Regions from separate parts of the Homo sapiens genome. Here region 2 is linked to region 1. The links are contacts of gene promoters, found by promoter capture Hi-C in human tissues and cell types (Jung and others, 2019). All regions are on one chromosome and are shown on one strand. The core of a region is centred on a gene start or on the middle of the fragment in contact, and the rest is flanking DNA. Distances in the headings are between cores, read along the strand shown. Region 1 holds the start of MYH7 (myosin heavy chain 7). Region 2 has its middle 27 kb from the start of NGDN.

The links. Contacts are between HindIII fragments. The study calls those that stand out against the background at their distance.
Region 2: a fragment that was not itself captured here is called in contact with the fragment with the promoter of MYH7 in region 1 in 4 of the 25 tissues and cell types used here (aorta, liver, lymphoblastoid cells and 1 more).

The regions. Positions count from the first base shown.
Region 1 is chr14:23,433,919-23,438,696 of GRCh38, forward strand. MYH7 (myosin heavy chain 7) reads right to left here and starts at 1,742. Exons shown (of 40, transcript NM_000257.4): 1 at 1,702-1,742; 2 at 276-331. RefSeq lists enhancers at 1,602-2,439, 3,460-4,778, 4,217-4,717. The HindIII fragment of the contact is 9,172 bases long and covers 1-4,555 here.
Region 2 is chr14:23,494,193-23,499,024 of GRCh38, forward strand. No RefSeq gene overlaps it. Among named protein-coding and RNA genes, the nearest start is that of NGDN, 27 kb to the left of the region's middle. RefSeq lists an enhancer at 1-505. The HindIII fragment of the contact is 8,706 bases long and covers 1-4,832 here.

The DNA.
Region 1 (4,778 bases), core at 492-2,991:
CTGCCAGGGTAAAAGGAACAACTAACTATTGTTCAAGCTGGGGCTCTCCTAGGGGAAGGAAGAGCATTCTGAGCTCCCTGTAGGAGCAGAAATCTAACTATTTCCATCTCTGACCCTCATCTATCCCTGGACCCCCTGGTCACAGGTAAGTAGCTCTTGATAGCCAAGATATTCTCTCCAGCACATGGCAGAAACTAGAGTTCCATAGGCTGGCTTTGGGGCTCTAATGCCCAGTCTTACTAGATTTTCAACACTCTAGCTTCAGCTTTTCTTACCTGGGCTACTCAAGTGTGTCTACAGATGAGGAAAGGGGCCAAGGCCTGCAGGGGACCTGGAGAGAGGGAAGAGGCTGTGTCAGGGCAGGCTGTGCCCAACCTGACCAGTCCCACCTTCCTGCTTCTCCCTGGCTCTGTTCTTCAGCATCCACCCTCTTCCAAAACAAGGTGGAAAGGGTGGTCAGCTTCTCTGGTCCCATCCTTCTTGTTTTTCAAACCCTATTCCCTTTTTCCTCAAGAACTAGTTCTAACAGCTTCCTGGTGTCAACTCAACCTGAACCCTAATCCTCTTCACTCCTGCGAGATGGTCCCACCCCTGCCTGTACCCATCTAGTGGTACCTTTCTTTGAGCCATCTGAGAGACAACTAATGGTCACATTTGTTCGGCACTTTCCAGTCTAAAAGCACTTCAATGCACTTTCTCCTACTCAGTCTTCACCCCATTTGACAGATGAGGAAATCGAGGTTAAATGGCTTGCTTGGCCAAGAGCCCATGACAACAAGTGGGAGAGCCAAGACTTGAATGCAAGTCTGATGACTCTAAAGAGACTTCTTTTCCATCCTGTCCCCATTTTGTTGTCAGACTTTGTGGACATTCTCAGAGAGAAGACACTGTGGGCTTCCTCTCACAGACACACCCATCACATAGCCAAACACCCTCCACAAGCCCTCTGATGAACACTCATGCCTGCTGCTTGGGCATGCCTCTCACATGAAGACAGGCTTCCTTCCCATACCTCAATCCGCACCCCAACCCCAGGGTGCCATATATGCCTCAACAGCAAATGTGCACATTTCAGGATGTGTGCCACGTAAGTAGATCACATCACTGCGTGTTCTTCAGTACACAAAGACCTGGAACATCCTACACCCCCGTGCCTGTGAGTTCCTTCTGCAGAGGGTACAGATACTATAACAGTCATGACTCGTGGAGGCATAGACAAGAACCTCTGCATGCATGGACAGGGGTAGCTACACATTCCAGGCCTCACAGAATCACATGAAGGCATACACACTTCCTAGAATCCTTCTCCACCATTCTTTCTCCCTCCCTGCAAAGGAACCTCCTCGTTCACAGACGTGATCATACACCCACATCTCCCACTTGATATTTCTGTATCAGTCAGTGAGGTACATACCCTTTCTCACATTCAGACTATGCAGGCTTGTCCACACACACACACACACACACACACACACACACACCCTGTAATGCATATTGGTCCCATATGCTCAGATGCAGATATCTTCCCCTAGGAACTCCTGTGGCACATACGCCCATGTTTAGACCTGCACATGTGTGCCCAGTGACTGGACCTGGTACTCTGCATGAAGTCCTGCATGAAGCTTGCTATTCCAAGAGGAATCCCTTCCTAAGCCTGGAGCCCCCTTATCCCAGAGTAAAGCCTCCAGCTCCCGCTCCTACCTGAGAGCAGCAGGGAAAGACACAGAGCAGGACAGAGCTGTGGAGCCAGACCTGGTCTCAGGGGCTGTATATATGGGGCAGCAGGGCACCCCCACCCCCAACGGCACCCAGTCCCTAGCCGGATTTAGAAAGGGCTGTTGTCACTAGAAGCATTTCCCCCAGGCTCCCCCCCTTCCCAAACAGTGCTCCCCTCCCCGCCTCTCCAGCTAGGAAACAATTGGAAGTGGTCGTCATTGTTATGGCATGGACTGTGCAGGGTCTGAGTTCCAGGGGGCGGGGTGGCTCAAAGTGCAGCAAAAATATCTCCCAGGCCAGGCCTCACATTCCACAGCTGGCAGGAGAGGGAACTGACCACGACCACCAAGACCACAGGCAGCCAATGTCCTGGCTCTCCCGCAGGGCACTTCTGGCCCTGGACACTGCTCCCCCTCCAGTCCCCTGCTGCGAGGCCCCTGATGGCCTGGCCGCATTTCCACAGTGTCCTCCCTGCTCTCCTGGCCCAGGTCCTGTATCCAACTGGAAGCTGGGAAGGGGCTGAGTGTCAGCAGCAGAGAAGGGTAGGACAGAGTTGGGGGCATGGCCCCAGGGTGAGGCAGCTAGACTGGGGCAGCTGGAAGGACATTTCCTAGCCAGGTGGCAAGAACAATAACCATGGAGCTTAGAGATGGGGACTCTGGCTCAGGCACTGATTTCCTTGGACCAGCAGGCAATGTGTTGAGGTCACCAAGCCTCCGAGCCAGACAGGCCTTTAGCAATCCATCCAAGCACTTCATTTAATGGAGAGGGACAGTGCATTCTTTAAGGTTATACAGCTAATCGGGGCAGCAGGATTCAAGGTGGGAAACCTCAGCAGATGGGAGTGGAGCCCGGCCTGTGGAGGGTAGCCTGGAAAGGTGGGCTGGGATTCCAAAGATGTGGGGACCCCCTATGCGCAGAGAGCAGGACCCAGCTGCATTGGTCCTAGTTTGGAGCGGTTTGCCTGACTCACGTTCCTGGCTCTGCCCCACAGGTACTAAAGGCCTGAGCCCAGAGACAGACCCTCTCAGAGCTATAGATAATACAACTACTTGGAGCTGGAAGGAGACCCCTAAGACAGCTGTTGTCTGGCCCACCCAGCCTCAGCTTTATCCAGAGCTGGAGGCGACTAGTGTTCTGGCAAGTGAGGCAGAGTAACAGGACAGGAAAAATCTTCCCCTCTGCAGGCCTGAGGAACAGCCACAAAGGAGGGGAGGAAAGGGAGCTGGGGCCCAGCCTACGAGCACAGAACACAACCGATGCCATGCTCTTCTAGCAACGGGGCATGCAAGCTTGACTGGCTCCGTGTCTAGGCAACCACTGCACGATTTGGTGTGAAATCTCCCCCTTCTTCCCAAGCACAGCTCTTCCGCGCATGCGGATTAGTCCATCTGATTAGCTGTCAGCTTGGAAGGAGTGAGGCAGGCCTGGGGGATGGGTGCAGCAGGTACATTTTGAAGGTGGGGTGGGCATAGCAGGGAAGGGAAAATCCAGGAGGAGGCCTCTGTGGGGGTTGCTTGGTAACCAAGGCACTAAGGTACAGTCTGAGGACATTGAGCAGCTATAAGGGGGGTGCAGGCAAGTGGGGGTAGACCACGAACTGCAAGGGCTGTGTCTGACAACACCGCAGCTCTGCAGTGCTAAGGTATACAGTTGCTGAGGTTATCCCAGTAGTCTGTGCTACTAACATGCCCGGCAGAACAGACTCTGGCAGTCCCCCCCAGGCCCTGCCAGGTGCTGAGGAATCAGCCCCATTGACAGAGACAGACCCTCTCAAAGCTATAGATAATACAGCTGCTTGGAGCTGGAAGGAAACCCCTAAGACAGCTGTTGTCTGAGGTTCCCTGTAGGAACCTCAAGGATTGGCGATGAGGGGCAAAAACTCCTTTCGTCCCCACCTTCCAGCTTTCCAAGCTCCAAACTGCCACCCCTCCCTGATTTCCCAGGGCAATTAAGATGCACAAAGGGTGCTTGGGACGTAGTTGAGCCATTTCAAAGCCAGTGTCTTCACCACAGGCCAGCGTCCTTCCTTGGCTGGGGACTTGGGTAGTCTTTTCTGCATTTGGGAAATCAATCACACTTTGTTTCTCTCCTTTCGGGTTTGGGAGGCTCTGGTCTGTTGGTGTTTGGGTGTTACTGTTCTCCACCCATGCCCCCTCTCATTGCAGATAGAACTCACCTCCCTAACTAGGCTTTGCCTCACAGCTCAGACAGATCAGAGGGCCTGCTGTCCTTAAAGATCCCCACTCACTCCCTAGCTCCTCCAGCACCTGCTCTTGGTTACATCATGATTCTCTTCCTGCTGCTTGCTGCTGTCTGAAGACTGAGCAGCTTTGCAGATTCCTCCATTCAACAAGTATTTATTGAGTGCCTACTATGTGCCAGGCATTATTCTGGTCAATAAGGACATAACAATGACCCAAAGAAAGATCCCTGCTCTGGACTGCTTTAGTCAACTGTTTGTAGAAATGGCATCCAGGCCTACCCTTTGCACACATGCACATTCCTTGTGGGGAGAGTGAGGGGCCAGGGGCCCCACCATGCTGGGGTGGGTGGGGATTGTGCAGAGTGTGCTACAAAGTGATAGCAAGATAAAGGAGAGCAAAGCAAAATGCTATAAATAAAGAGAGGCTGGAAGGAGGGCCGCTTCGGCAAGGTAGACCAAATAAGGCCTGAAGTGAAAGGAAGGTGATCTGTCCCCCGTCCTCCCCTCCCCGCATTGTGCCGGCTTTGTCTGCACTCTGTCACCACCCTGATCAAGTGTCAAGCCAAAACAGGGGCCATTTGCTGTGAACACGCCAGCGGTAGTTCAGAGGAAAAGTTGCTAAAATTACTCCCAGTAATTGTGAGGGAGGGAGACACCAGGGCGAATTAGAAGCGATGTCAGCATGGAGAGAGGGGAATCAGAAAAAAGCTCCGGTACCCAAAGGGAAGGAAGAAACGGGGCAGGAAGAGGCAGGGCACTTGGTGCAGGGGAGGAATGAGGCACTCGTTGTTTGTGCACAGGGCAGAGGGGAGCCACCCAGGAGTGGAGGCTGACTCTCCCATCCGCCTGCCCCCAG
Region 2 (4,832 bases), core at 2,316-4,815, 62 kb after region 1:
CGCCCCCACCCCACATGTGCGCATCCTCATCCTTCTTTGTCTTTCTTTGTGTATAGGGAGATAATTGGGATGGGAACCCCACGGAGGTACAAGATAGGAAGAAATACTCAGTAGGGGAGATTTAATTGACTGGCTTATCAGAAGGCCTTGCTGGCAGTAAACCAGTCATCTTGGATCCATGTCTGGCATTAAGCAGTGAGGAATGTACTTTGAGCTCTTCCACTCCCCTCCCCCTTTTTTCCTACTGTGCTCACAGGCTCTGGTTGGCTGGGACTTCCAAATGGATGAGGCTGATTTGCGCTGGTATCCTATTGGTCAGCTCTTGTTTCCTCCTAACCAGGAGCTGCTGAGAGAGGAAAATAGCTGGTTGGCCTTTGGGATATTTTTTCTGCATTTTGCAGAGGGAAGAAGGGAGGAGGATGTGAAACTGGAAGGTCCAAGGCTGAGAATCTTGCCTCAGCAAAAGTATGCAAGTGTCTTTGGGAATCACTGGCTCCCATATTGCTAAATTCTGTACAGAGATTGTCCTGGATGGATTAAATTGGCAACACTTACCCACTCTCCTTTTAGAGCTAACTTCAGGGGACTGTCGTGTCTTATGCTAACTACCACGGCTGCTGTCTTCACTGTGGTACCTTGAGCCCTGGACCGTTACCTGCTTTTCTTGCCCTATTTTATATTTTCCTACTTCTATTCCCAAAGGGCCTTATTTTCTGTTAGGAGACAGTGAATAGTGATGTTAGCTAAGTGCTGCTAATGAGTTTGATTGCTCATGGTATCCTTCCCAGGTGATGTCATGCCGTAATTTAGGTAAGAGTAGCACATCTGTCTACAGAGGATTCTAAGGAAATGACTCTAGGCATAGGTAATTTGGGCAGCATGATATCTGCAACAGGTAGCATTTGCTAGGCACTCAATAACTCTGAGTGCTGCTTTTTGTATTAGGCACTGTGCTAGGTGCTGGGCTTAGACAAGAGCCCTCTCACAGAGGAGTTCATAATTTGGAAGAAAGATGGGCGTGTTTGAATGGTCATTACAATATAGGGTATGCTCTGGAGTGGACTGTCTGTTTAAAGTACTATGTAAGATCAATGGAGTGGATCCATAAGACATGACAGAGAGATTTGGGGGCCTTGGTCCAGGACTATGGTATTGGGGCTGGGGCTGTACTTTAGCTGTCTGTAGACTCAGGGTCGTATGGAAACCTGGTATGATGGTAGATGCATTCCCCTCTTTTGAGGAGAATTTATTGGAGCAGAAACCTTGATAACATCATTGGGTCACACATGGGGTTAGGAATACTCTTCACATGCAGTCTGGTATGGTAAAGTGGCAAGAACCCTAACTGGGAATAATAAGACCTAGGTTCAAGTCCCAGTTCTCTTACCTAGAGCTGGATCGTAATCTATAAGCTGATTGAGTACCTCCTATGTGCAAAGAGGGTATAAGAATTGGACTTACAAAACTTCTTTCCTGATCCCAAGAGCCCATGATGAAGTTTCAAGGCAAAGCTTAAAGGGATTAAAAAGGAGGAAAAATTAAGTGATTCAGTAACTACTATTAAAACAACTTAATTGCAGGAATTGGGATACTCATAATTACATCTCTCTCTTTTCTTAAAAAATAGGTACTCTATAGCTCCTTACTTGGAGCTAGATACTTAGCAAAGCCCTTGATAAATATTAATTGATTGACTAAGGTCTGACAATGAAAAGTAAGCCATTTCTGAGGGCCTTGGTGAAATAGTTTTGCATCACTTGACAAAATAAAACTCCCTTAGCTCTTAAAATTATATAGTGCTTTAAGATCCTTGGAGGGAGATATTGAAGTAAATGCAGAATGCCATCATTAGTCTGATGCATGCCATTGGGAAACCCTTGTCACCTTATGAGATGTGAACTGCCTGTAGCTTCAGTCCAGGCCATGTGTTATAGAGAAAAGTGCCCTGGATTATGAGTCAGAAGACCTGGGTTCTACTCTCACCTCTGCTACTTACCAACAGGGTAAATTTGAGGGAGTCAGCCTTTCAGTTGCCTCATCTTTAAAGAGAAAGTAATATCCACTCTGTGTTGATACATAGAACAGGAAATTTCCAAAGCAAAGCTTAAAGTAGAATGTGCTCTTAACCACAAAAACACTTTCCTCGGAGGCATTAAGTCTCCTGCGTCCAGGTAGGTCCTGAAGTATCCCTGCCTTGCAGATGAAGTAACTGAGACCTACAAAGGTTATATTTTGAGCTGATCTTGTCTTTGTTTCAGAGAATGATCTTTACTCAAATGTCCCCTTCTCTATGACCGCTCTATTTAAAATGGCCCTATCTTTCCCTCTATACAAACCCCTGTCCCCCTTCCCTGCTTTATTTTTCTCTGTGGCATTTGCAACATCTAACATACTACATATACTTAGAGATGGCTTATCTACTGAACATTGCCTTATGGTACAATTTCTGCTGGCATTTCAAGAGCAGAGGAATGTCGTGGCTAGAGTGAGCCTTGGACATTATGCATCTTGGGTCTTGCCTTCTGGCTAAAAAGGGATCCTGCCAAGTGGAAGGATCTTGGTAGTCTGTTTAGCTGGGCTCAGCTTCAAGGTCAAGGATAAAACTGGTAGTAAATAATATTCGGAAGAAGAAATCTGGGAAATAGGACTATTGTGTTCCTTTGTTCCTGAGCTTGTCACAGGCACTGTCCTGTTGGGGAAAGCCAAGAGGGTTCAGAGGGCTCAGGTTCCCTAGAGTGAATTCCTTGTAGATTGGTCCAGTTACTAATGAGGTTACTATATTAAAAATTCAGATTTATGGTGGCTCACACCTGTAATCCCACCACTTTGGGAGGCCGAGGTGGGCGGATCACTTGAGGTCAGGAGTTCGAGATCAGTCTGGCCAACATAGTGAAACCCCGTCTCTACTAAAAATAAAAAAACTTAGCCGGGCATGGTGGCGCATGGCTGTAGTCCCAGCAGCTGAGGAGGCCGAGGCAGGAGAATGGCTTGAACCCAGGAGATGGAGGTTGCAGTGAGCTCAGATCATACCACTGCACTCCAGCCTGGGCAACGGAGTGAGACTCCATCTCCAAAAAAAAAACCACTCAGATTTATGCAAAATTTAATGATTAGTGAAAACGGTTTTACTTACAAAAAGATTTGGGACATTTATGTGCTATAGATGACAAAACCCTGGACTAAGACTTAGCAGTTCTGGCCTGGGTGCAGTAACTCATACCTGTAATCCCAGCACTTTGGGAGGCTGAGGTGGGTGGATTGCCTGAGCCTAGGAGTTTGAGACCAGCCTGGGCAACATGGCAAAACCCTGTCTCTAAAACAAATACAAAAATTAGCTGGTTGTGGTAGCGCACGCCTATAGTCCTAGCTACTCAGGAAGCGGAGGTGGGAGGATCCCCTGAGCCTGGGAGGTCGAGGCTGCAGTAAGTCATGACTGTGCCACTGCACAACAGCCTGGGTGACAGAGTGAGACCCTGTCTCAAAACAAACAAACAGGGCTGGGCGCGGTGGCTCACACCTGTAACCCCAGCACTTTGGGAGGCTGAGGCGGGTGGATCACCTGAGGTCAGGAGTTCGAGACCAGCCTCAACATGGAGAAACCCCATCTCTACTAAAAATACAAAATTAGCAGGGCGTAGTGGTGCATGCCTGTAATCTCAGCTACTCGGGAGGCTGAGGCAGGAGAATTTTTTGAACCTGGGAGGTGGAGGTTGCGGTGAGCCGAGATCGGGCCATTGCACTCCAGCCTGGGCAACAAGAGCGAAACTCCGTCTAAAAACAAACAAACAAATAAACAAAAGACTTAGCTCTGCATTCCAATCTTGGCTCTGCAGCTAATTTCTGTGTGGCCTTTGGTAAGGCACTTAACTTCTCTGAAGTTGGGTTTCACTATTTCTTCCTAAGTTGCGATCTCTCTAGTTTGATCATATGAGATCTTAGGTTTAAAATTTTTTTTTTTTTTTTTTTTTGAGTTGGAGTTTCACTCTTGTTGCCCAGGTTGGAGTGTGGCGCAATCTCGGCTCACCGCAACCTCCGCCTCCCAGGTTCAAGCAATTCTCCTGCCTCACCCTCCCTAGTAGCTGGGATTACAGGCATGTGCCACCATGCCTGGCTAATTTTGTATTTTTAGTAGTGACGGGGGTTTCTCCATGTTGGTCAGGCTAGTCTCGAACTCCTGACCTCATGTGATCCACCTGCTGTGGCCTCCCAAAGTGCTGAGATTACAGGCGTGAGCCACCGTGCCCTGACAGGTTTAAAGTTTTTAATGCTAGGCCAGGTGTGGTGGCTCACGCCTGTAATCCCCAACAGTTTGGGAGGCCTAGGTGGGTGGATCACCTGAGGATAGGAGTTCAGACCAGCCTGGCCAACATAGTGAAACCCCGTCTCTACTAAAAATACAAAAATTAGCCTGGCGCGGTGGTGTGTGCCTATAGTCCCAGCTACTCGGGAGGCTGAGGCAGGAGAATGGCGTGAACACAGGAGGCGGAGGTTGCAGTGAGCCGAGATTGCGCCACTGCACTCCAGCCTGGGCGACAGAGCGAGACTCTGTCTCAAAAAAAATAAAAATAAAAATAAGTAAAAGTTTTTAAAACTTATAAAGGAAAGAAGGATATGAATATGTGTTAGCATTTATTGGGTGACTCCTAAATGCCAACCACAGGATAAGGGGTTTTTCTTAGGAAAACTAGCTCATTTAATCTTTACAGTCACTGGGGCATTTTGCAACCATCTTACAGATGAGGAAACTGAGGCTTTTGGAGATTTTTTCCTTAGAGAGTGAAAAAATTTTCCAGGGTTCCAGATTTATTACAAGAGCTCCTTTCTCAGATGTG